Regions from separate parts of the Homo sapiens genome. Here region 1 is linked to region 2. The links are contacts of gene promoters, found by promoter capture Hi-C in blood cells and fetal thymus (Javierre and others, 2016). All regions are on one chromosome and are shown on one strand. Each heading gives the region's core, a stretch centred on a gene start or on the middle of the fragment in contact. The rest is flanking DNA. Distances are from core to core; before and after follow the strand shown.

Evidence for each region. The method cuts DNA at HindIII sites, captures the fragments that hold promoters and counts their contacts. A CHiCAGO score of 5 or more calls a contact.
Region 1: a fragment that was not itself captured here is called in contact with the fragment with the promoter of TMEM131 in region 2 in 1 of 17 cell types (neutrophils); the score reaches 6.1 in neutrophils.

The regions. Positions count from the first base shown.
Region 1 is chr2:98,508,088-98,513,775 of GRCh38, reverse strand. All of the region lies in intron 1 of INPP4A (inositol polyphosphate-4-phosphatase type I A), which reads right to left. Among named protein-coding and RNA genes, the nearest start is that of INPP4A, 66 kb to the right of the region's middle. RefSeq lists an enhancer at 5,395-5,454. The HindIII fragment of the contact is 9,429 bases long and covers 1-5,688 here.
Region 2 is chr2:97,993,690-97,999,375 of GRCh38, reverse strand. TMEM131 (transmembrane protein 131) reads left to right here and starts at 3,428. Exons shown (of 41, transcript NM_015348.2): 1 at 3,428-3,900. The coding sequence starts at 3,714. LOC124905591 (a long non-coding RNA gene) reads right to left here and starts at 1,733. Exons shown (of 2, transcript XR_007087148.1): 1 at 482-1,733. RefSeq lists enhancers at 2,719-2,998, 3,169-3,682, 5,315-5,394 and silencers at 3,219-3,468, 3,579-4,138. The HindIII fragment of the contact is 7,821 bases long and covers 1,255-5,686 here.

The DNA of each region.
Region 1 (5,688 bases), core at 2,633-5,132, 510 kb before region 2:
GCAGGGACAAGGCAAGGCCAACAGAGAGAACAGGAGCAGTAACTCCAGAATGGCCAAGCCCAAGGTGACCAGCAAACTGGAGGCTCCACTCCAAAGACAAGGCAGCACTGGCCTGTGTGCAGGCTTGCCACAACAGCTCACATTCTGCTCCCAAGCATCCGCTCAGGTCTGTCACCAGCCAAGGTACGTGCTGCATACAGCAAAGACCAGGAAGGCCTGCTTCCAAGTATTCCAGAGCAATAGCCAATGGCAGCAGAAACTTCCTCTGGTTTATATTTGGAATGAGTGAGTAAGTGAGTGAGTGAGTGAGTGAGTGAATGAATGTCTCTACATAACCAATGAGAAAGTTAAGTGCTATGAATCAACTTTTAATGCAAAGCAAATGATAAAACAGGTATGAGAAGAAGAGCGTGTGACCATGAGATGAGAACACACCAAAACTCATTCTTCCTTAAATATGGCCAACTTGAGGGGGCCGCCCAGGAAGAAGAGGATGTTGAACACTGGAGAAAACTGCCATCTGATGTCAAGTGGGAAGGGGTTGTGGGGTTGGCATGGGTCATAAAAGCAGAAGGACTGATTCTGGGAGGCGATGCAGGAGGAGTTGGGCCTACGATACAGCAGTTGGGGTCCTTGATTCTAATTTGCCCACTTTGGAGACTACTCCAACCCTGGGTGTCCTTCCCCATCCTACGGTGCAAGGGAATAGTGGAAGCAAGCAGGCCTTCCATTTTTTTTTCTTTCAAACAAAAGCCATCTGCTTAGGAAAGATCTTAACCTTTTAAACAAAGTCAAATATGCTTCTCTAGCATAAAATACAAAAACAAAAAATGCTGCCTCAAAGGCCCAGGTATTAACTAGGATGGAAAGGCCACATGCTGCAGGAACACGGACAAGGTGGAGGGGACCTGGGAGGGGTCTCAGGAAGGCCTTCCTCATGCCTCTCGGGGCTCTGGCTCCAAGCCCACCAGGCCCCCAGCACCCTGGTCCACAAAAGGCTCTTGATACAGTTTGAACGTGTTCTCCAAAGTTCCTGTGTTGAAAACTTAATTGTCATTCTAACAGTAGTGGGAGGCGGGGCACTTAAGAGGTGATTAGGACACGAGGACTCTGTCCTCATGAATGGATTAATGCTGTTTCTGTAGGAGTGAGGGGAGTGGATTCCCGATAAATCGGGAGTTTAGCCCGATTTCCTCTCTGTCTCTCATGCTGGCTTCCACCTTCCACTCTTCCACCATGGGAAGACCCTCACCAGATGCGGGCACCATGCTCCAGGACTTCCCAGCCTCCAGACTGTAAGAAATAAGTTGCTTTTCTTTACAAACTACCCAGGCTGTGGTATGTTGTTGGAGTAGCAGAAAATGGATTAAGACAGGTGTCAACACCTGCCCTTCCGCAGACTAAACCCTTGGATCAACCTGTGAGGCCCAGAGTGGGGCCTCAGGAATCCACCCACTTGCTCAGCTAATCCCACTTCAGATCCCTCCTCCCCCATAGGTGAAAGAGCTGCTGAGCTTCTCTCAGCCTCAGTTTCTGTATAACGGAAATAACACTGGTCTCACCAGGACACACTGAGGAGCAAGCACATATGTGAAGAAACACAGAAAACATCCGCATAGAGCTCAGTACATGGGCTGTCAGCCCTGTGAGGTTGTCACCTTGGCATGTGAGGTTCTCACCTTGGCTTTTCCTAACCTCCCCTGAGGCTGGCCCCCACAGCGCTTGTACTGGAGCCATCTGTGAGCCTGGAAGCCCTTTCTCTACAGCTAAGTCTATGTGAGTTTTACCCAACTTTCCTACCTTCTCCAGTTCCTCCAACCGGAACTTTTCACCAAGGTCCACGGTACTTTGCTTGCGCTACAGTTTATAATCACCAAAAATTAGGCCCAAAGGTTGCTATTGAAAAGGAACATGAGAGCACAGGCCTGTTCCTTGAAGCAATATGGCTTGGTGGCATGGGGGAGGGGAGCCCAGGCAATGGCATCAGACCTGGTGAACCGCTGTGAAGCATGTGACCTTCCACAGGGTCCCATCTCTGTGCATCAGTTTCCTCGCCTGTCAAATGAAGTTACGACTACTGTTGGAAGGAATTCAGAGTCTCCCAATCAGAGGAGTGTGAGTGGACCCTGGACTCCCAGGGAAGTGAGGTGGGTGCTCTGTCCCTCCAGGATAGACATCCATGTTCTGAGGGGGCAGCATCATGGTCCTCTTGTACTGAAGAGGTCTGCTTCCTCCTCCCCTCAGAGCTGGGGCCCAGCCCTCTCCCACCTCCCACCTCCCAGCTCTCTATACCTGCACAGGGCAGGAGAGGGTCACTGTGAGTAAAGCTCTGACTCAAAGGACACTTAACACCCAAGCATGCTGCAAAACATCCATCCAACGCTGCTAGGGCTTAAATACAGGAAAGTAATGTGCTTTAGAAAAATCAAGCACAGGGGCCCAGTAATCCCAGCACTTTGGGAGGCCAAGGCAGGCAGATCACAAGGTCAGGAGATCGAGACCATCTTGGCCAACGTGGTGAAACCCCTTTCTACTAAAAATACAAAAAATTAGCTGGGCGTGGTGGCACGTGCCTGTAGTCCCAGCTACTTGGGAGGCTGAGGCAGAAGAATCGCTTTAACCCGGGAGGTGGAGGTTGCAGTGAGCCCAGATCGCACTACTGCACTCCAGCCTGGGCAACAAAGCGAGACTCCATCTCAAAAAAAAAAAAATTGAATCAAGCACAGGAAGAGAAGTAACATGCTGGCAATGCGTATCCCTTCTCACCTGCAGACACAAATGACCTGACTTAGGGCCCCCGAGCTTGTGCTCACTGGGAGATGTTCATTTATCTCTGGCTTTCCATTTCCCAAGCCCTACTGTCTGCCAGTGATGATGGACAGGCAGCAATGGCAATGAGTTAACTTCATTTACTTAACTGACATGCCTCATTAGTTTAATAAATATGCTTACTACTATAATACAGGGCCTGAACCAGAATACAAATGCACATCCCAGACTCCAATGGAGGGAGTCAGTCACTGTGCTACAGTCTGAATGTGTCCCCCAGAATTCCTTATGTTGAAATGTAGCCATCAATGTGATAGTATTAAGAAGCGGGGCCTTTGGGAGGTGATTAGACCCTGAGGGCTCTGGCCTCATAGGTGGGATTAGTGCTGTATGAAAGGGCTGGAGGGAACTAGGTAGGCCCTTTTTGCCCTTCACCTTTTGTCATGTGAGGACATGGCAAGAAGGCCCTCAGCAGACCCTAAATGCCAGCGCCTTCCCAACATCCACAGGTCTAAGAAGTACATTTCTGCTGTTTACCAGTCTCAGTTATTTTGTTATAGCAGCCTGAACTGACTGAGATACCTTGGATAGGGACATGGATATCCCTGTAAACAAGAGGGCAGAGGAGGATGCTCCAGGAGCAGAACAAGCCCAGACCGTTCCAGCCTTCCTCTTTCACCTCACCAGCCCCTCAAGGTTTCCCATCTCAGTAGATGGAGTTCTGTCCTTCCACTTGCTCCAGGCAAGAAATAACATCCTGGCCTCCTCCTCCTCTCACATCCCACATCCAATCCATTGACAACTCTATTAGCTCTATCTTCCCCACAAGTACGACTTCAACTCCCTTAGTACCCCAACTCCCATACCCTGGGAATTTGACCAGCGTCCCTCCCACAGTCCTCACAGTCTGTGTCCAACTGCAATGACGGGGCCTGTGAACCTCCTAGCAGTGTCTTCATCCTGCTCCTGCCCTGGCCTCTTTGCTGTTTAGACTTTTATCTGGTGTGGCCTTTGCATCAGCCACCCTCTCTGGGACTGCCCTTCCTCAGATAACAAGGCAGGCAATTCCCTCACTTCTTTTATGTCCTTCTTGGTTCCCAGCTTCTCCTGGAGTTCTTTGGGACAGCCCAGTTTACAACTGCAGCTCAGCTCCTTGTGGTTCACCCATATACCATGAACGTTCAGGGGATTTTCTGTAAGAAGCAGTTTGAAAATAAGTTGCCCTGAAAAAAGTGCTTTAAAATGTTTGTGCTGAGCAAAACAGGTGCTCACAATCTGGGAGATGAGTGAGATGTGTCAATAATCACAAGCGCAATGTCTGGGAGGTGCCAGGAGCAGCCTGGGGTGGGCGGGGATCTGCCGACTGCCTTCCACACCACACACTTCAGCCACTCTTTCTTCAGCACCTCCAATTTCTTGCTTCTGCACCTCATGCTGTTTCTTCTCTGTAAACTGGCAATCTCTTTAACACAGCAGTCCCCAACCTTATTGACACCAGGGACTGGTTTTGTGGAAGACAATTTTGGGGGGCTGGTCAAGGGGAGTGGTTTCGCGACGAAACTGTTCCACCTCAGATCATCAGGCATTAGTTAGATTCTCATAAGGAGCACGCAACCCAGATCCCTCACATACGCAGTTCACAACAGGGTTTGTGCTCCTACGAGAATCTAATGCCACCGCTGATTGACAAGAAGTGGAGCTCAGGCAGTAATGCCTGCCACTCGCCTCCTGCTGTGCAGCCCAGTTCCTAACAGGCCACAGGCCAGTACTGGTCTGCAGCCCGGGGACTGTGGACTCCTGCTTTAACAAACAGTTGAGGGTCTATTATGGAGCAGGCCTTAGGGATACAAAGATGATAAGAGGCTTGGTCCAGAGCTACATCACAAAGTGTAACAAAGATGAATGGTAGACAACCTGAGGCCCACAATGGTGGGGGCCAAGCCTCTTCTGAAGCCTTCCCTTGGGTGAGGGGCTGGCTTGCTACTCTGTCCTTTCCAGGCAGCGGCACCCCTGGGTTCTGCAGCCAGGGATTCTGGGGCTTTTTCTTGAGGTGAATCAACCCAGTGTTCCCATACATGACCCCTCTCACTCCCGCGCACCAGGCCTCATTCGTCATTTGATTACCACATCAATTTCACAATACCACAGACAAAGACAACAGGAACACTGTACATGGCGGTCTGCTGTCAGAGCTGCGTGGTTAGGACTGCAGTCAGCGTGCACCAGGAGCAGCGCGGTTCTCTCTCCTACAACAGGCAAGGACTTTGACAAGTCTCATTTCTTACTCCATTGTCACTTGAAACCACTTGAAGCCCTCACACAATTAACTGAAAGTTTGCCCGTCTGTTGTCCAGGAAGTCCTTCCAGCGTGTCACATAAATTTCTGAATAAGTGTATGAAAGGACCGAGGAAAGCATCCAGTATTTCAACCCCCTCATCAAAGGAGACATGCTGCTCCAAGAGGGCCGGGAACTGAAGAGATAAGGACACGGGCTTCCCCGTGACCTGTGAGTTGGGCTTATCTCTGAGTGTGGGTCCACAATAAGGGGGGTATCATCACTCACTCAGAGTTGTTACTCAAAGGTTCATTCCAGGAGACGCAGCTGGAAGACTGTGGAGCATGAACCCAGTCTGGCTCCTCTATGGTGGAGGCGGGAGTGCAGGAGGCTCTAAACCCCAAAGCAGGCTGGGTGTGCCTTATTCATTGCCAAAGATGGTGATTTCTCTTCCCTTTTCTTCTTCCACCCAAACACAAAGCTGTCAGGCCTGGCCTGGTGCCTGCTCCTGCTTCCCTTGCCCAGAGCTGGCCACCTGGAAGCTGGACCCTGACTTGCCCCAGCCACTAGAACAGCCTCTAACCCGAGCTCTGCTTCTCTCCTTCTTCCCTTTCAGGAGAGGTGTGGCTGCAGCTGCTCATGG
Region 2 (5,686 bases), core at 2,179-4,678:
ACATGAAGTGGGGACCTGAAAGTGTATAGATGGTGTTGAACGGCAGGATACCAGGTGCATTCACCTATGCAGCAAAGGAGATAGAACCCTGGAAAGCCCAACAGTTTACTCCCTCCTAGTTCCAGTTTTAATTCATAGAAGGCATTCTTGCACACCTCCTTAAGTATTTTGTGGAATGAAGTGGAGGTATCAATGGATCAAGGATCTTCGTGCCTAATGTGGTGTTTTGAAAAGAGTGAGTGCTCACTAATAGCTACTTTTGACAGTCTCCTATGTCCCAGACACTAGTCTATATGCTTCACAAACCTATATGCTTAATCTCCCCAAATTTATATCATAATCCCCATTTTTACAGATTAGGAATCTGAGGCCAGAAAAGTCATTTGCTCAGCATCATATAGCTAGTAAAGGCAGGGATGGGATTTAAGTTCAAATTTGTCTGAGTCTCTTATAATTCTGCCTTGAATGGTAAATTACTAACCTGCATAGAGAGCAAAATGAACAGAAAGTGAGGAGTCCCAACAGCTTGTAGCTCCTGGCATATATCACTGTGCAACAGTCTTCAATCTTGAGCCTGTATCAGAATCACTTGGATGCCTTGTTTAAACAGATTGTTGGACCTCAACCCAGAATTCCTGATTCCACAGGTCTGGGATTTGGCCTGCTAATTTGCACTTCTAACAGGTTCCCAGGTGTTGCTGCTACAGCTGGTCTGGGGATGACACCTTGAGAACCACTGGTTTAGCGAGTTTTCCCTGACTCTGCCAGCTAATACCTCCACCTGCCAAATGGCCAGGTCTCTCCAATTTCCAAAAGGGAAAAAGAGAAAAGTTCACAACTAATCAGAACTATTTGAGAGTCCTTAGTGTGATGGTTCCTTCAATTTTAACTCCTGGTTCTCTCCTGAGACACATGAGGGTTGGGGAGTGGGGGTAGAGGATCATAGGGTGATGGTGGCTCCACGCCAGGTTCTCTCTAACACACAGTTTACCATGCTGTCTAGCAAAACGTCTTTCACTGTTAGACTCTCAGTGGCCTCATTGTCCTTTCCTGGGAGGAAAGTTCCATCATCACCCCTCCTGCTCCTAGTGTCCCTCAGGCACAGGGGAGGGTTCAGGTATGGTGGGCCTTAAAAGCCTACCCAACTATTGGGAGGGCTCCTTTAAGAACAAGAATACAGGCTTATAAATACACAATTAGGTTCAGGGACTTGGAAGGAACTTGTGCAAGAGAGGGGGCCCTGCGGCTTAAGCTTCATTAGCTGCATGGGAAATCGAACTCTGATCAAACATGTCTGTATACGTCTAAAGATCCAATTACAGACAGGTGCAAGTTATTTCCCATGGAGCTGCTGAGCCTCAGGCTAACCAGGGGATGTGGCTGATTGCTGTGTAAGAGAACCTCAGCACTTCATGGTTGGAAAGGCTTGTTTGTCCTGAATCTGGCCATGGGGGAAGGGCTGCTGACTTGCAGAGCTAGCACGTTGGAGGCTAAGCAAAAGCGCTCAGTTACATATCCTTGGGTTTGATCTCTTCCGTGAGTCAAAAGCCTTCCAGAAATCTCTTGCCTCAGACATTTTAAACGCCAACTTAAGAGATAATTATTCCTATTTCATTACATCAAAATAAAATTTGACTACTCAATTTTAAGGCTAATATTCAAAAAAGTAAAATTGCTTATGATTAATTTTTTGAGACGGAGTTTTGCTCTTGTCGAGGGTATAGTGCAGTGGCGCTATCTTGGCTCACTGCAACCTCCACCTGCCGGGTTCAAGCGTTTTTCCTGCCTCCGGAGTAGCTGGGATTACAGGCATGCACTACCACGCCCGGCTAATTTTTATATTTTTTAGTAGAGACGGGTTTTCACCATGTTGGCCAGGCTGGTCTCGAACTCCTGACCTCAGGTGATCCGCCCACCTTGGCCTACCAAAGTGCTGGGATTACAGGCGTGAGCCACTGCGCCCTGCCCTAAAATTGCTTTTTAAAATCATTAGGCTAAGGTCATATTTAAATATATATTAATTTATGAATAAATTTAAGTGCTTGCTTGACACAGGGGACTACTTCATAGAGTAGATTCTGGAGTTCCTTTTGTCTTTCTGAAACCTTATTTTCCTATCTAGCTTGTTCTGAGACGTACTGTGGGCAGACTTGGCCTTACACATATATCGACTCACTCAACAAATACAGCTAAGGAAAGTAAAATGTCTCTGGGCTACAAGCTGGGAGGAAGTTACTAAGATGAGTAAAGAAGGACCCCCTCCAAGAGCTTAAATTAAGTCTTGGAGACAACAGCCATGCGCACCAAGAAGCTCAACCTAAGATGAAAAGGGCATCTAAGAGGCGCGAGATGGCTCGTGAAGGTAACAGACGTCTTAAGAATTTTTCCGGGCCCAGCACAGTGGCTCACGCCTGTGATCCCAGCACTCTGGAAGGCCGAGGAAGGCGGACTGCTTGAGCCCAGGAGTTCGAGACCTGCTCGGCCAACATAGTGAGACAGCGTTTCTTAAAAGAAAAAGAAAAATTGGCGTGGCGTGGTGGCGGGTGCCTGTAGTCCCAGACCGCACCACTGCACTCCAGCCTGGGCGGCAGAACCAGACCCTGTCTCAAAAATAAATAAATAATTAAAAAATAAAGAAAAGAAAAAAAAGAATTCTTCCTCGAGAGAGGAAGCCGGCTACTGGATATTCTAAAGAGCAGTCTGTTTGCCCCTGCCTTCTCCATCCAGAGTCACCGACGCTTTCTGCACACGAGGTGTTCCGCGCCAATGTGGGCACAAGCCAAGGCAAGAGGACTCCATCAAGCTCCTCCTGGGTACCATGATTTGGAAGACCCAAGGATGAGTTCAGCGGGCCACCATCCTCAAGGAAGCACCATCAAGAACTGAGTCAGGCCCGGGGTATTCTCGACGTCAAAGCGGTCGAGAGGTGGGGGTGCCACCAGGAAGAGTCACTGGAACGGACCTTCCGCGCTCGTCTCGCGGTCTGTATGCGCACTCACACCCCTGGAAGGCTCTACCACTGTAGGACAGAGCACGGAGGATTGCCCAGGCGCCGGAGAAGAGGTTAGCGCCCCGCAACTCCGCCCCTGCCCCGCCCACGCAACGCGGCGGCTGCGCGGCGAGGCCGCCCCGTCTCCACGTGATTGCCGACACCGCCTCCGCGAAGCAGAAGCCGCCATCATAAGTCCTGGCAGCTGGACCTGGGCCTGCCTCCCTCCTTCTCCTGCGCCAGGTAGCGGTAACGGGCTGGGGTTGTTCTGTCCTGGTTCTGTCTGGCCGTGAAGCCGCAGGCCTCCGAGAGCGGGACGAGGAGGTGGGGCCCAGGGGGCTCCGGGGCGGACAGACTGACCGCCGGACAGCCCAGGTGTCGGCACAGCGTGGGCGGTGCCCAGAGCCGCGCCCCGCCCCTCGCAGGCCAGCGCTCAGGGCTCGCGGGCCGTGCCCGTTTCCAGTATGGCCGCCCGCCGCGCCTGACCCGCGGCCTCTCCGCTCCGACTGCTTGTAGGCGATGCCCAGGCAAAGACCGTGACTGACACTCTCGCTCACACGCACGCACGGACCCAGGCCCACGCTCGGAGATCGAGCCCCGGGCTCGCAACCGTTGTCGCTCCCGGCGCCGCGGCCAGAGCCCGGACCACGGCTTCCGCGCCGCCGCCGCCTCGCCGAGAAGGGCCGCGCCGGACCTCGAGCGCGGCGGCCCCCGGCCGGCAGGGATGGGGAAGCGGGCGGGAGGAGGAGCAACCGGAGCCACCACCGCCGCCGTCTCCACGTCCGCCGGGGCCGGGCTGGAACCTGCGGCCGCCCGTAGCGGGGGCCCGCGGAGCGCGGCCGCCGGCCTCCTAGGCGCGCTGCACCTGGTGATGACCCTCGTAGTGGCTGCGGCGCGGGCCGAGAAGGAAGGTGGGTGTCCCCCGGCGGCGTCCCTGCGGCGGGGCTGTCACCCCGCTCTCGCGGAGGCCGGGAGGGCTGGGCCGGGAGGAAGGGCCGCGGCCGGGGCTCCGGCGCAAAGTTGGGCGGTCGGGTACCGTCCCGAGCCGGGACCTCGCGGCGCCCGCCGCACGGAGTGGCCTTCGCTCTCCGTGATTCCTTCCCGTGCCTTCCCCCGTCTCCTGTCACTGCCATTTCAAAACTTCCTGACTTCTCGTACGTTCTTGCCACTTGGCCCGCTAGGTAGGAGGGGCATATTTTTTGGCTTTATTGCGGCGAATAGGTACATTTTAGGACACTTCTGTTTTCTTGGTTGCGGTTGGTTGCATGCAGACAGAGCTTACTTTAAAATGTGGTAAAAATAGCGAGACACAGCTTAAAAAATTTCACTTTGAATTTGTTCAGACATTTCTTCGAGGGGAAATCTTGGTCCTGTAGCTTCCTCCTTTAGTGTCTCTGCGTTATTGATAACTTTATTATTAGACCTAAATACAATTCCATTTAACTCTTTAGTAAGCTGTTGAAAGCCTGTTTACATTTCTTATTTTAAAATACGTGATTCGGTGCCTTTATCTTTGATGTGAAAGCCTTTAAAAATAAACGTGAAGTTGCCAGCTTGCAAGCATTTATCTATAATTTACAGTTAAGGGCTGGCCCCTATTTTAAAAATCTCATTAGTATTGTACTGCTGCAAAACGGGTACTTGGACAGGGTCAAAAATTATTTTGTAATCTTGAAGACCAAATCAGTGTAATTTCATCTACACTACCTCTTTTTGAGCCAAGGGACATGTGAATGGTCACAGAGCCTTCATGAAGAATTGACTAAGTGAATAGTTTAAAAAAAAAACAAACCACGCAAAACTTGTTAGTTTAGCATTGCACATGAAACTGCCTGTACAAGAAAACAATTTCTTGCCACGGTAATTTTAGAGTTAACATTCTACTTTATGACTAAAGTCACTTGCTTTTTATTGTTGCTGAAGGTGAAAGCAAATACAAACCAAATTAGTATTAAAGTGCAAATGTGCTTCAGTATACTGTTTCTTTTATTTTTGTCCACATTACATTCCCTTATCTAACTCTCTAAGCAACCTTAGTCTGAGTTAACATTGGTGGAAATTATTCAAAGAATTGTCGTCTATAGAAAGGATTAATTGATGGAAGCAAAATTATTTCCAGAATAAAATATTGCCGCTTTAGGACTAGTCGGTCCTGGGGTTGTCATAATACATCATTGGCCACAGATCTGCAGTTAGTTGAGTGTTCTTTCTTATGTGTGATCGTGGCACCTAGCATTTTGGCCTGTAGTGGGTGTTCAGTGAACCCAAAATAGTGCAGTAATTTAATGGACATTTTTTGGGTGGGACTTCAAGTAGACCTTGGTGGGTATTGTGTCCTTGTTTTTCTGTTCCTTTGCTTACCTTGCACAGTGCCAGACACACTGGCGCTTAGCCTTTGAGTGAATGACTGTCTTCATGCGCCCTTAGCACAGGGAATTGAAATAATGGTTGAATCTAGTAAAGCATTAAGTTTGTATTTTCCTTCTACTGCTGCTGATTTTTCCAACAGCCATTTTATATGCTAATAAAAACTTTACTCTGGGTAAAGTTAAGTAAACAAACCTTTTGTTTGAGAACTGTCAGCCTAAAATATATTTGCTAATTTCTCATTTGCATAGTTTATACATGTTAGTGCACCTCTCTAATACCCATAAATGTGTGTAAGGATTGGATGAGGAGAATACTTGCCAGGGTGTT